Linked DNA regions of Homo sapiens: regions 1 and 3 are each linked to region 2. Evidence: promoter capture Hi-C in human tissues and cell types (Jung and others, 2019). All regions are on one chromosome and are shown on one strand. Each heading gives the region's core, a stretch centred on a gene start or on the middle of the fragment in contact. The rest is flanking DNA. Distances are from core to core; before and after follow the strand shown. Region 1 overlaps ITIH5 (inter-alpha-trypsin inhibitor heavy chain 5). Region 2 holds the start of ITIH2 (inter-alpha-trypsin inhibitor heavy chain 2). Region 3 overlaps ITIH5 (inter-alpha-trypsin inhibitor heavy chain 5).

Region 1 (4,297 bases), core at 1,429-3,928, 95 kb after region 2:
TTCCAAAATAGCTAAGAGTATTATGTGAATGATTTAATGCAAGAATCTTTAATCTTTAAAATAATTTAGTTGTCATCCCCATTTTACTGATGGAGAAACTGAGGCTTTGCAAAGGTAGATAAGTTGGCTAATAAATGGTGGTGGCAGCCTTTACTCCCAGGTCTGAAGTCTGAGAACTAAGCCATGTACCGTGCAAGTAAGAGTGTGGTTGCGGCAAGAAGGCACACATGTATGCAGCTGGCAGAAGTGCAAATGGATACAAGGTCAAGGCAGTCTTACATTTGAAGACCCAACTGAGAAGGCTGCATTGCAGAAGGCAGGGATTTCCTCGCATGATGCAAGAGCAATGTAATAACAGATGTCAGATCATTTGTTATTCTCCCCTCTTCCTTCATTCCTGGATATTAAAATTCCATTCCTTGCTAGCCACTGAAAGTCTGGCATGCACTCTGCTGGCTTCGAAGCTTCAGCATGGCCTCTTTCCAGGAGAGCCACCCTAGACCAGCCAAACACATGTCTGAGCAATTTTGAAAGCCCCTCGCTGCCTTGAGTGGTTTTGAAATCTGCGGACTATTTTTGCAGTTCTCAGCATCTCCAAGGCCACAGTACTAAGTGAAAAGCTTAGCTGGCTCTTTGAAGAGTCTTGTATATGATGTTATGTCTATTGGTGAAGAGGACAATTATCCCAAGCAAAGGGCTTTTCATATTGTGTCAACAGGCTTGGCAATGTGGGACATTTGTCATGCATCCACATGGATTCTATTAAGAATCATTCACTGTTATTCCCAATGTTCTTGGCTCCCCTCGTCTTTGACGGGCCTGAAAGACCTTGCTGCATTTATTGCAATGTAGGACACATAGTTGGCATTTAATAATTACTTGAACTATTGATTTAGAAAAAGCTGTAAAGACCATTCAACCTTAAAAAAATATTCTCGGTAAGGGGTATATTGGCACCTGGGGAGCCCCCAAAGCTGTGTGCCTCTGGCATTTTCTGGTTCTTGTCCTAATCCCAGTGGGAACATGATCCTGGAAGCCAGGACCTGCCTGGCTTGGGAACAGCAACAGAGCTGCCTGAGGTTTGCTGGCACGTGGCTTTGCTGTTTTCCCTCCCGTGTGCTTTTGCAGATGAGTTTGTTGAGAGATGGCTGTGGTGTTGGGTCAGGCAGGGTTTCTACCTCCCAGTTTGAGCTAAAACTTCTTGGTGAGAATGGGAGCTGAGAAGAGCCAAAAAAAAAAAAAAAAAAGAAAAAAGAAAAAAAAGAAAGGGAGGGGGGAGAAAAATGTAATCAGGGAAGGCTTCTTTTTTTTGTTGTTAGTTGCATGCTTAAAGCATTGACATTTGCAGACAGACATGTAGTCCTTGGGAGGATTAAGAATATGCTTTTCCTTGACCATGGTGTCCACTTTCTTGTCTTTCCTTTCCCTGATCTATAGAATTAGATCTACTACTTTCACATTCATATTAAAGAACTTGGCTAAGGGACCCTCTTTGGCAACCAAGCAGTGACGAATGGATCACTTACCAGATGTTTTCCATGCTTTAATGGTCTTCAAACCTGTTCCCACACTCTGTGTCCCTCTGTGCCAATTCTGGGTTCCCACGTAGCCTTTGAAGCTTGTCTTCCTTTCTCCATTTTATTTAGTTGACAAATTTAGAGGGTAAAGAACAAGCATGTTTCTTATCTGTAATTGTCAAGTTAAAATGAGGGCAAACGTGAATTAGTCAAGTTAAAATGAGGGCAAACGTGAATTAACGAGTAGGAGGACTGGGATCTGCATGTCGATTTTGGTTCACTCACAGGCTTACTTTATGCTCTAGGACATTGGTTTCTCCCTCGCTGTCCAAAATTGGGTTCCCAAGGGCTATTTGGATATTTCATGTGTAACCTTACAGGTGAGTAATTTGTAAGCTCCATGGACTTGGGGAACATCTTGTGTTTGATCATTACAATATGCATTCCCAACTCTTCACAGACAGTGGGTAATGACATTTGCTGCCAAACTACCAGCCCACAAACAATAAATGTATCCTGCATTTTTCTGAGGCACAGTAGTTACCATTGAGTGATCAGTGCGTATCAAGTGCTGTGAGGGTTTTACGTACATTTCTTCATTTAATCTTTCAGCCATCCAGTGAAGTAAACATTGCTCTCCCTATTTTATGCATGGGAAGGTGGAGACCAGGAAAATGATGTAATTATGCTGAAATACACAAAGTTATAAGTAGGAAAGTTAGGATTCAAGCCCAGGTCAGCCTTACCTAAACCACTTCTCTGTAACGTCACATATGGACCGTAACACAGTGGTGGTCTGTAGACCACTTTTCAAGCTTTGAGGCTCTGTTTTTGTCACCAAGTAACGTGAAGGACAGTGCACTCAGGTGAGTGCACACAGATGTCACCTACTCAAAGAGGTGCCAGCCAGCAGGCTAGTATTGTGAAAAACTCACGAAGCTGTTCTGCTTTGATTCGTAGAATTATTGAGCAACGTTTTATTATTTAACACTAAGCACTCCTTGGGCGTGTATGGGGAGGCAAACTTCTTTCCCTTTCATGATGTGGATCGGGCAAGTGACATCCGAGTGTGCGTGCAGATGGCAGAAATGTAGACTGAGGCAAAGTGGCTCGGGCAAGCTGGGTGACTGTCAAGTCCAGTGATGTCCAACAGTGTGATATTGTAGCTGCCTTCTTCAGACTATGTGGGTCTGCCACATTTCAAAAGAGAGGATCCAGGCCAGGTATGGTGGCTCATGCCTGTAATCCCAGCACTTTGAGAGGCCGAGGTGGGAGGATGGCTTGAGCCCAGGAGTTCGAGACGAGGCTGGGCAGCATAGTGAGACCTCATCTGTACCAAAAAGATAAACAAAATTAGCCAGGCATGATGGCCCACATCTGTAGTCCCAGCTACTTAGGAGGCTGAGGTAGGAGGATGGCTTGAGCCCAGGAGGTCGAGACTGCAGTGAGCTATGATGGCGCCATTGCACTCCAGCCTGGGCAACAGAGCCAGACCTTGTCACAAACAAACAAACAAAAATTAAACGACGGAGATCAAAGAAGGCAGTCAGATTCACCGAGCAGCCTGGAGGAAAGCTCAGCATGAGCTGCGGGACCCAGAGGGCCTCTGAGGGCTTGCCATCTGGTTAGGGGAGAGAAATCCCTGAACAAATGAAGGCGCTCAGAAAGCAGGAGGATGCAAGCTTGCCCAGTGAGTGCATGCCTGAAAGACTGGGGGAAGGGGTCTCAGAAGGCAAGCGCTATGTGGCTATCATGCAAATAAAAATCGACAACAGAGAGCGTCGGGTCCACCTGCTTTGCCTGTTCAGGTCTAGGCCTTGTTTAAGCACCTGAAAGCAAGGCCCCAGGAAATATCAGAAGGAAATATCAGAAGAGTCTAGCTTCCCTTTTTGGCTTTCTGGAGCCAGTGTCATCAAACTTGTTTGTAAAGGGGCAGATGATAAACATCTTAAGTTTTGCAGACAAGATTTTTTTTTTCTTCTTTCGAGACTGAGCTTCGCTCTTGTTGCACAGGCCGGAGTGCAATGGCGCTATCTCAGCTCACTGCAACCTCCGCCTCCTGGGTTCAAGCAATTCTCCTGCCTCAGCCTTCCGAGTAGGCTGGGATTACAGGCATGCGCCGCCACACCTGGCTAATTTTGTATTTTTAGTAGAGATGGGGTTTCACTATGTTGGCCAGGCTGATCTCGAACTCCTGACCTCAGGTGATCCACCTGCCTCAGCCTCCCAGAGTGCTGGGATTACAGGCATGAACCACAGCGCCAGGCTGAAGATTCATTTTTCCAAGTTTCTCCCCTCTCCCCTCCTCTTTCTTTCTGTAGAGACAGGGTCTCACTATGTTACCTATGCTAGTTTTGAACTCCTGGACTCAAGCGATCCTCCCACCTTGGCTTCCAAAGTGTTGGGATTACAGGAATGAGCCACCACGCCCGGCCCCCAGATGGTTTCTGTTGTAACCACTCAACTCTGCTGTTGGATGCAAGATCTGTCCTCCTTGTGACAAGAGCACAGCCACAGGCCATATGCAAAGAAATGGGTGTGATTGTGTTCCAGTAAAAGCTTATTTACTAAAAGCAGGCAGCAGCAGGGCCCCTGAGCCACAGTTTGCTGACACCTGTCTAGAGCAAGGACTCATCAAAATGACCTTGAGTTACATGCCAGTTGATTGTGTTTATTCTCGTCTACTGGGCTGCCCTTGTCAAGACGTTGCTACCAGCAGATGCATGTTTCAGGAAAACATTGCAAAACAGAGATTTGAGACTTGAGGCAGGAAGCAGAAG
Region 2 (4,069 bases), core at 343-2,842:
TGTGTGATGTTCCCCTTCCTGTGTCCATGTGTTCTCGTTGTTCGACTCCCACTTATGAGTGAGAACATGCGGTGTTGGGTTTTCCCTTCTTGTGTTACTTTGCTGAGAATGATGATTTCCAAAAGATCTAGAGCCAAAGAGATAGCTGTTGGTATTCATTATTTTATATTCTTTCCTCTACCTCTGGGCAATCACAATTTTGTATAAAATGATTTCTTTAGTATATTTCTATTTGCTGGTTACGTCTCAGAGGTGTCCAAATGGAGGGTAACAACACCTTCGCATTTGTTGGACATGGGAATTCATTTTTGAGTTTGCCAGCAGGTGGTAAGACAGAGATCAAAACAACCCAGTGATTAGGTGGGTGTCTGGGGAAGTATCTGGGTAGACCCTGGAGGCATTTGCAGTGTCTGACTGGACAGACATGAACCATACATCTCCCCAAGTTAAAAATGTAGGTATTTTCTAAAAGGAAATGCCAGTTAGAAATGACTGAAAAAGCACAAACACATTTGGATGTCTTGGCTTCAATTTGAGATTTCTAACACACTCTGGTGGCTTTTAAGTGTTGGAAAATATGATAGTTTCAAAGCAGACAGAGTGATATTTTCCCTTTGTAAATATGCCGTCATATTCTCTGGCATTTTTATAGGTAATCCACTCTGCAAGTATTATAAGCCTTTGCATTTGCTGGGATGTTCCCATAACATGCTTCGCTTTTCTGGCATAAAAATAGCTCTTGTATGACTTTCAGAAACAGACTTTCAGTCCAAGACTTTCCTTACATTGGAGATGGCTAAGGGACAAAAGTGGAGACCTGTACTCCATGGGAATTATTCTTGTACTTTTCCACCCTGCCTGCTATCTTCCGCTTTAATAGGAATACTTAAAGTGCTCTTATTACAAATATCACTGTTCACTTAGATATGAAAAACAGTGTGCTTTGATAATGACTTTTCTTATACTCTTAGTAAAAGAGTGATAATATTTCTTCATCATCATAACAGCTAGTAATTATTAAGCACTTACTAGTCCAGGCGCTCTGCTAGAAGAGTTTACACTGTGTCATTTAATTCTCAAAGCAAACCATTGGGTTAGGTCTATTCTTACCCCCAATTTTTTAGGTGAGGAGTGAGCAGCTCTGCTCCATAAATGCTACGCTCTGATGCCTGCCCATTGATCTTGACTTAATTTTCATGCAAAACCTGTTAATGCTTTAAAAGGTAAATATACATTCCAGTAATTATAACAGTAAACACTTGCACTCAGATGAATTTTATCTTAAGTTTCCATTACACACAGAATAAGGCCATTGAATAGCGATTCCAATAGATGATTTACTGAGCTCATGAACAAGCCAACAGCAAGGAGTGATCTGTAAGTACTTACTTCAGAAAGTCCATTTATGGGGATTTCGAAGCCTGATACTTCAGAAAGAAAGAAGCAGATGAAAAAGCACGTGAGTCTTTTCATTTTGCTGGACAGTTTTGCCAAGCTCCCCAAAGCAGATGGTCTGGGGAGGATATCACTTCTTCCTACTGAACCAAGTTCAAAGGAACAGCAGAGGAGTACAGTTCGCTTTAAGAAAGAAGAAAAAAGAAGAAAAAACTCTCTAACTTTGTTCAAAATTGGGACAAATATTTGTTCTGGAGCTCAAACTTGAGCTGTGTGGGTGGATCGAACACCCAGAGGTTATTCAAACAGCAAAGTCAGAAGCAGTTGCTTACTGTGAGGACAAGTCAGGGGCAGATGGATGTGCTTGAATGTGCTTGTGTGCTTTTATTTTATTTTTATTTTTTATTTTTTGGCTTTTGCTGATTTCTATTGATCTTAAAATCAGAGAGACCTACAGATAATTGTCATCCTTTCTAAAGGACCAAGTGCAGAACTATTCCAAGAAACAAAATCCTTTGATCTAAATGAAAGCAGGAAAAATTTAGAAAAAGTGGGAGAAGACACAGAAGGGTTTTTCTGAGCAAAGAATTCATTGTGCATGTTTTCCCCTATCTCTTTGATGACTGTCTACCTGTTACCTATAAAGACCCAGGCAAGTGGCTGTGCAGGATACTAGGGCAGATCTTCAGTGAGAATGCTTCGTGAATGTCTTTGATTAAGGTAACAGTGTCTGTCCTGCTGCCCCTATCAGCCGGGCTCAGGTCAGTGGCAAATCAATACTCCCCAGTCTCAGAATTGGAGTGCAGTGGTGAGATCAAAGCTCATTGCAGCCTCAACTTCCCCCGGCTCAAGCAATCTGCCCACCTCAGCCTCCAGAGTAGCTGGACTACAGGTGTGCACTACACTGCCTGGCTATTTTTTGTAGAGATGGGATTTCATCATGTTGCTCATCCTGGTCTTGAACACCTGGGCTCAAGCTATCTGCTTGCCTCAGCCTCCGAAACTGCTGGGATTCCAGATGTGAGCCCCCATGCCTAGCCTCCATCCTGGTCAGATTCTATTTTTCTTGCAACAAACAGGAAATGTAACTTCTTGGATGCAACACTGAAATAGGAAGCTCCAGCTGTGGGCAGAATTACAATACAAGGGAGGTTGTCTTATCCTCAGGACCAAGCACCCCAGGCCAACTTCTGGGATCCTGGAGCTCCTTGCTACATTTAAAGCCCAATTCACAGGGCATGCAACAGAGAGTTTTCTGCATTTTCCTCCCTAGTTTCCCCTCAGTCTTCGAAATTGCACAGCCGTGTGTCTGCTGGAGAAACATAACTTCTGAAATAATGGAAGGGAGAAAACAGATTCTCCCCTCCCTTGCCTAGGTTGGACTAGTTGAGCGCCCACCTTGGCCAGTGAGTGCCTCAGTGGACCCCTCATGGAAAAATCCTGCCACAGCTTTGCATTCTTGACTGAGATACTGTTTCTGGAGAATTAAGACCCAATGGCAGCTGGGCGCGGTGGCTCACACTTGTAATCCCAGCACTTTGGGAGACTGAGGCGGGTGGATGACCTGAGGTCAGGAGTTTGAGACCAGCCTGGCCAACATAGTGCAACCCCGTCTCTACTAAAAATACAAAAATTAGCCAGGTGTGGTGGCATGCGCCTGTAATCCCAGCTACTTGGGAGGCTGAGGCATGAGAATTGCTTGAACTGGGGAGGCGGAGGTTAGAGTGAGCTGAGATCACGCCACTGCATTCCACCTGGGCAACAGGGCAAGACTTGGTCTCAAAAGAAAAAAATAAATAAATAATAAAAAACCCAATGGCATGTTCTCCCAAAAACAGCAGTGACTTTCAAAATCATACCTCCTTCCATTGATCATTTCCTTTCTGATTATTTTAATCTGATATTCAGAATTATCTCAGAATAAACCAAACCAAAAGCAGGCTGGACTTTTTTCCATGCTGATACTCTGTCTTCAGATCCCAAAGTCCTTTTTTTTTTTTTTTTTTGAGAGGGAGCGTCACTCTGTGGCTCAGACTCAAGCGCAATGGCATGATCTTGGCTTACTGCAACCTCCACCTCCCAGGTTCACGCGATTCCCCTGCCTGAACCTCCCAAGTAGCTGGAATTACGGGCGTGCACCACCACAACTAACTTTGTATTATTTTTTTTAAAGTAAAGATGGGGTTTCACCATATTGGTCAGGCTGGTCTCAAACTCCTGACCTCGAGTAATCCACCTGCCTCAGCCTCCCAAAGTGTTGGGATTATAGGCGTGAGCCACTGTGCTCAGCCTGATCCCAAATTCTTGAAAACAAAACAAAACAAAACAACATTTGCTCTCTCTCTCAATGTTCAGAAGCACGACCGCGTAGGCTGTGTATTCAGGCTACTGAGTCTTGAACCTGAGACCCTTTCCCCTTGCACTCCCCACCCCACTGCCAACCCCTCCCATCATGCCTGGGCAGCTGTGACGTGGTGAATTGAATATATCCACTGATTTCTAGGATGGAAATCACTACCATAAATGCCACAAGAATATTCACTTTCACGTATGTGAAAATCAGTAGGAAATCTACAAGAAAAAAAATCACAATATTTCATAATGTTTGAACAAAGAGATAACATTTAGTACTCATTGGGAACTCTGGGAAATATCAACAAACTTGAGATTCATC
Region 3 (4,377 bases), core at 648-3,147, 79 kb after region 2:
TCTCTGCTCTGCGGCTGGAAGGGCAGGACCCTGTTTGGCCTCTGCGAAATCTCTGTACCTTTGCCAGGAAACAATCTGGTTGTTATGTGAAGGTTTCCAGCATTGTTCACACAGAAATTATTCAGGTATGAATCATTTGGCCCCATAGTTGGTTGTGTTTTGATTTTTAATCCAATATGAAAATCCATGTTATCTTGTTTGTTTTGACGTTGGCTGTGGCTCGGTCAACCCAAGAGCGTGGCACGGTCAACCCAAGAGTGTGGCACAGAGGCTTTGGCTTTTCTCTGTAGCCCAATACCGGTGAGACACCTCCTCTTTACTGTGAGGCTTCACTCTTTTTCTTCCTTTTTCCTGCTGCCTTGGCTTGCTGTGGGAGGTGGATGTTGTCAGCATGTATGACCTGGGCCATCGCAGCTGTGGCTGAACCAGAGGTGGGCCGGGGGATGTGATGCAGATCACCAAGAGCATCTGCCACACCCCCTGAACACTTTCGGGAAGAGAAACATCAGTTCCCTTGAAGGGCTGCTCTGTCCATCTGCCCAGCTATGCACTAATGCATTTCATCATTTTCATCCTCAGTGTTCCGCAAGCTGGACGTGAACTCTCACATGTTTCTGGCGCTGTGCAAGGTTCCTGGAATCTACAGACGTCTAAGATGTTGTCACTGCCTTTGCAGAACTTAGAGCTGGCAATTAAAAACCTTGTAAAAATTGTGATAAAAAGCACACAATGTAAAATTTACCATCTTAGCCATTTCTTTTTCTTTTTCTTTCTTTCTTTCTTTCTTTTTTTTTTTTGAGACAGAATATCACTCTGTTACCCAGGCAAGAGTGCAGTGGTGCAGTCTTGGCTCATGGCAATCTCTGCCTCCTGGGTTCAAGCAATTCTCCTGCCTCAGCCTCCCCAGTAGCTGGGGTTACAAGCTCACGCCACCAGGCCCGGCTAATTTTTGTGTTTTTAATAGAGACAGGTTTTCACCATGTTGGCCAGGCCGATCTCGAACTCCTGACATCAAGTGATCTACCTGCCTTGGCCTCCCAAAGTGCTGGGATTACAGGTGTGATCCACATGCCCGGCCCATCTGAGTCACTTCTAAGTGTTTGGCAGTGTTAAGTCTATTCACATTGGTGTATTACCAATCTCCTGAACTTTTCCATCTCCCAAACTGAAACTTTGTACCCATTAAACACTGACTCCTCATCTCTCCTTCCCCCTGGTCCCAGATAACCACTGTTCTCCTTTCTGTCTCATCTATGAACTGGACAACTTTGCATACCTCATGTAAGTAGACTTATACAGTATCTGTTCTTTTGTGTCTGGCTTATTTCACCTGACATAATGTCCTCAAAGTTTATCCATGTTGTACCACATGTCAACATTTCTCTTCTTTTGAAGGCTGAATTATATTGCACTGTGTGTCTGCACCAAGTGCCACTCTGCTTTTCTCGGTTATTAGCCCCTGCTCTGCCTGCGTGCCAGAGAACCCTGCAAAGGCATTTGACAGAAGTCTCTCAATCTCATATTCCTTGGCTGCTCTACCATTGTTTCTGGTGGGCTTCCATTTGGTTGAATTCAAATGCTTGGGGCAGCTAGTATTTGAGGTCTCCAATGGACACGTGATGGCAGAAAGGGATAATGCATATATATATATATATATGTATGTATATATATACACATATATATACATACATATATACATATATACACATATATATGTGTATATACATGTATATACACATATATATGTGTATATATATATATATTTTTTTTTTTTTTTAGGCAGAGTCTCACTCTATCGCCCAGGTTGGAGTGCAGTGACACAATCTTGGCTCACTGCAACCTCTGCCTCCCAGGTTCAAGCAATTCTTCTGCCTCAGCCTCCTTAGTAGCTCATTTTTGTATTTTTAGTAGAGACAGGGTTTCACCATGTTAGCTAGGCTGGTCTGGAACTCCTGGCCCCAGGTGATCTGCCCCCCTTGGCCTCCCAAAGTGCTGGGATTATAGGCATGAGCCACCGTGCCTGGCCTGATAATGCATGTTTGTTTGTTTGTTTTGAGATGGAGTTTCGCTCTTGTTGCCCAGGCTGGAGTGCAATGGTACGATCTTGGCTCACTGCAACCTCTGCCTCCCGGGTCCAAGTGATTCTCCTGCCTCAGCCTCCCGAGTATCTAGGATTACAGGCATGCGCCACCATGTCCCGCTAAGTTTGTATTTTTAGTAGAGACGGGGTTTCTCCATGTTGGTCAGGCTGGTCTCGACCTCCCCACCTCAGGTGATCTGCCTACCTCGGCCTCCCAAAGTGCTGGGATTACAGGCATGAGCCACTGTGCCTGGCCTGGGAATGCATATTTTTAAGGGTTAACTTTTAGAAAGTGTGCTTGCTGGGTGAGGTAGTTGTACTTGTTTTCACACATAGTCTCTCTTGGGAAATTTTTTCAAATATGGAAAACTGAGAGTTGGGAATCTATTATTTTAGGAAGGAAGAGCATTGAATAAGCAGTGAAGAAAGCTGATTTGCTAAGAAACCTGGGCAAACATCTACTTAACTATAAAATACTACAGTTGAGTTTGAATCCCTTCAGCTATAAATTTGAATTAGTATTCTGTGCTATGTGTTGCTATCATATCTATATGATGCTGTTTTCCAAAAGGATTTAAAATACCAAACATTCACGTAGGGGGAAGAAAAATCCTTTCCCAAAGGAAAACTGTGGATAGTAAGAGACTTATGAAGGTATTTTTTTTTTTTTTTTTTTTTTGAGATGGAGTCTTACTCTGTCGCCCAGGCTGGAGTGCAGTGGTGCAATCTCGGCTCACTGTGAGCTCCACCTCCTGGGTTCACGCCATTCTCCTGCCTCACCCTCCTGAGTAGCTGGGACTACAGGCGCCTGCCACCACGCCTGGCTATTTTTTTGTATTTTTAGTAGAGACGGGGTTTCACCGTGTTATCCAGGATGGTCTCGATCTCCTGACCTTGTGATCCGCCTGCCTTGGCCTCCCAAAGTGCTGGGATTACAGGCGTGAGCCACCACGCCCGGCCTTATGAAGGTATTTAACCAAATTCCTTCTCATCGTCATTGCCTCTGTGTTACCAGTTTTTCTTTCAATCCTCTGCTGATTTGCTTGAGTTTTATCTTTATTGCCACCCTCAGAGGGTAGTGCTCCAATTATTCACAGTATTTTTGACCTCCATATATTTAAGAAATTGCCTCGTTGGATCCCAGGTAAGCAGGGTTCATAAACAAACATAGACAATTTAAGCTTCTTTCTAAAGAGGAAATGAGCAGGCAGCGTGTGTTGGGAAATCCTTTTGTCAATGCACCAGGTGTTGGCTGCTTTTCTCCGACAGCAGCCAAAACCCAGACCCTCAGGAAACAGAGGCCAGGAAATCCCTCTCCCTATCAACCCAGAGGGTGGCGCTTCCAGCCCGTGGCTGTGAGCATGGGGCTCTTCTCAATCTTTTCACCTTTGGCATTTTACATAGCAGTTGGCTGCCATCTTTCCCCATGTGATAATTGTCTAGGAAAAGATTGTATGTTTGCGACCAACCTCCATGTATCAGGACATCACTAAGGACATATGTTTTGTTCTCTTCAACTCTGATGCACAAGCTATAAAGTACTTTGTCATTACCTAATAGGATCAGACATAGGAATATTTAATGGCACTTATAAACATGGTTCTTAACTTTCTTTAGAGTCCTTGGAGAATGTGGCAAAATCAATGCATCCTTTCTTCAGAAAAAAATGTACATTTACGCTTACGTGCAAAATTCTGTGTATAATTTTAAGGGACTTTCAGACAGCTACTGACTTCATTATATTTTGTAAAGATTATTCTTTTTTTAAAGATTATTCTTTATATAAGCATATTGACATATGTATAATGTGTATATATATTGAATTTCCTGTTATGAATGTTTATTATGTGTCTGTCCTTTTAAAATATTGTTTTTTTCAAGCTTTCAGTGGTATAGAGAAAACTGTTATGACAAAATGTGAACTGTATGTTATCCAAGAGCATTTTTTTCTTTATAAGTTGCCTTTCATAATGGACAAAGTACAAAAAACTACTTCTGAAGGGGAAGAGGATGGAGCTAGTATGTATTGAGCACCTACTGTCTGCCAGGCACCACACGGGGTACCTTACATATGAGATCTCACTACATCTCAACAATGATTCTGTGACTGTGGAATTGTTTCCATGTAACAGATGTGGGACTGAAGCTCAGGAATATTAAGTCAGTCGTTTTGATTCAGTCACACTCTAGAACCCACTCTCTTTGGTATTCTGTAGTTTGCAAAGATAACACAAAACTTCTTGCTCTAAAATACTGGGCTTTAGAAAAGAAGAGAGCCCCCTGGGAGTCCTGGTGGC

Evidence for each region. The method cuts DNA at HindIII sites, captures the fragments that hold promoters and counts their contacts. A contact is called where the count stands out against the background at its distance.
Region 1: a fragment that was not itself captured here is called in contact with the fragment with the promoter of ITIH2 in region 2 in 3 of the 25 tissues and cell types used here (adrenal gland, heart left ventricle and spleen).
Region 3: a fragment that was not itself captured here is called in contact with the fragment with the promoter of ITIH2 in region 2 in 6 of the 25 tissues and cell types used here (H1 embryonic stem cells, heart left ventricle, liver and 3 more).

The regions. Positions count from the first base shown.
Region 1 is chr10:7,607,020-7,611,316 of GRCh38, reverse strand. All of the region lies in intron 7 of ITIH5 (inter-alpha-trypsin inhibitor heavy chain 5), which reads left to right. Among named protein-coding and RNA genes, the nearest start is that of ITIH5, 58 kb to the left of the region's middle. The HindIII fragment of the contact is 3,117 bases long and covers 1,120-4,236 here.
Region 2 is chr10:7,700,839-7,704,907 of GRCh38, reverse strand. It overlaps ITIH2 (inter-alpha-trypsin inhibitor heavy chain 2), which reads right to left and starts at 1,592. Exons shown (of 21, transcript NM_002216.3): 1 at 1,390-1,592. The coding sequence starts at 1,473. The HindIII fragment of the contact is 26,123 bases long and covers 1-4,069 here.
Region 3 is chr10:7,622,185-7,626,561 of GRCh38, reverse strand. The region is part of intron 5 of ITIH5 (inter-alpha-trypsin inhibitor heavy chain 5); the gene reads left to right. Among named protein-coding and RNA genes, the nearest start is that of ITIH5, 43 kb to the left of the region's middle. The HindIII fragment of the contact is 8,428 bases long and covers 1-4,377 here.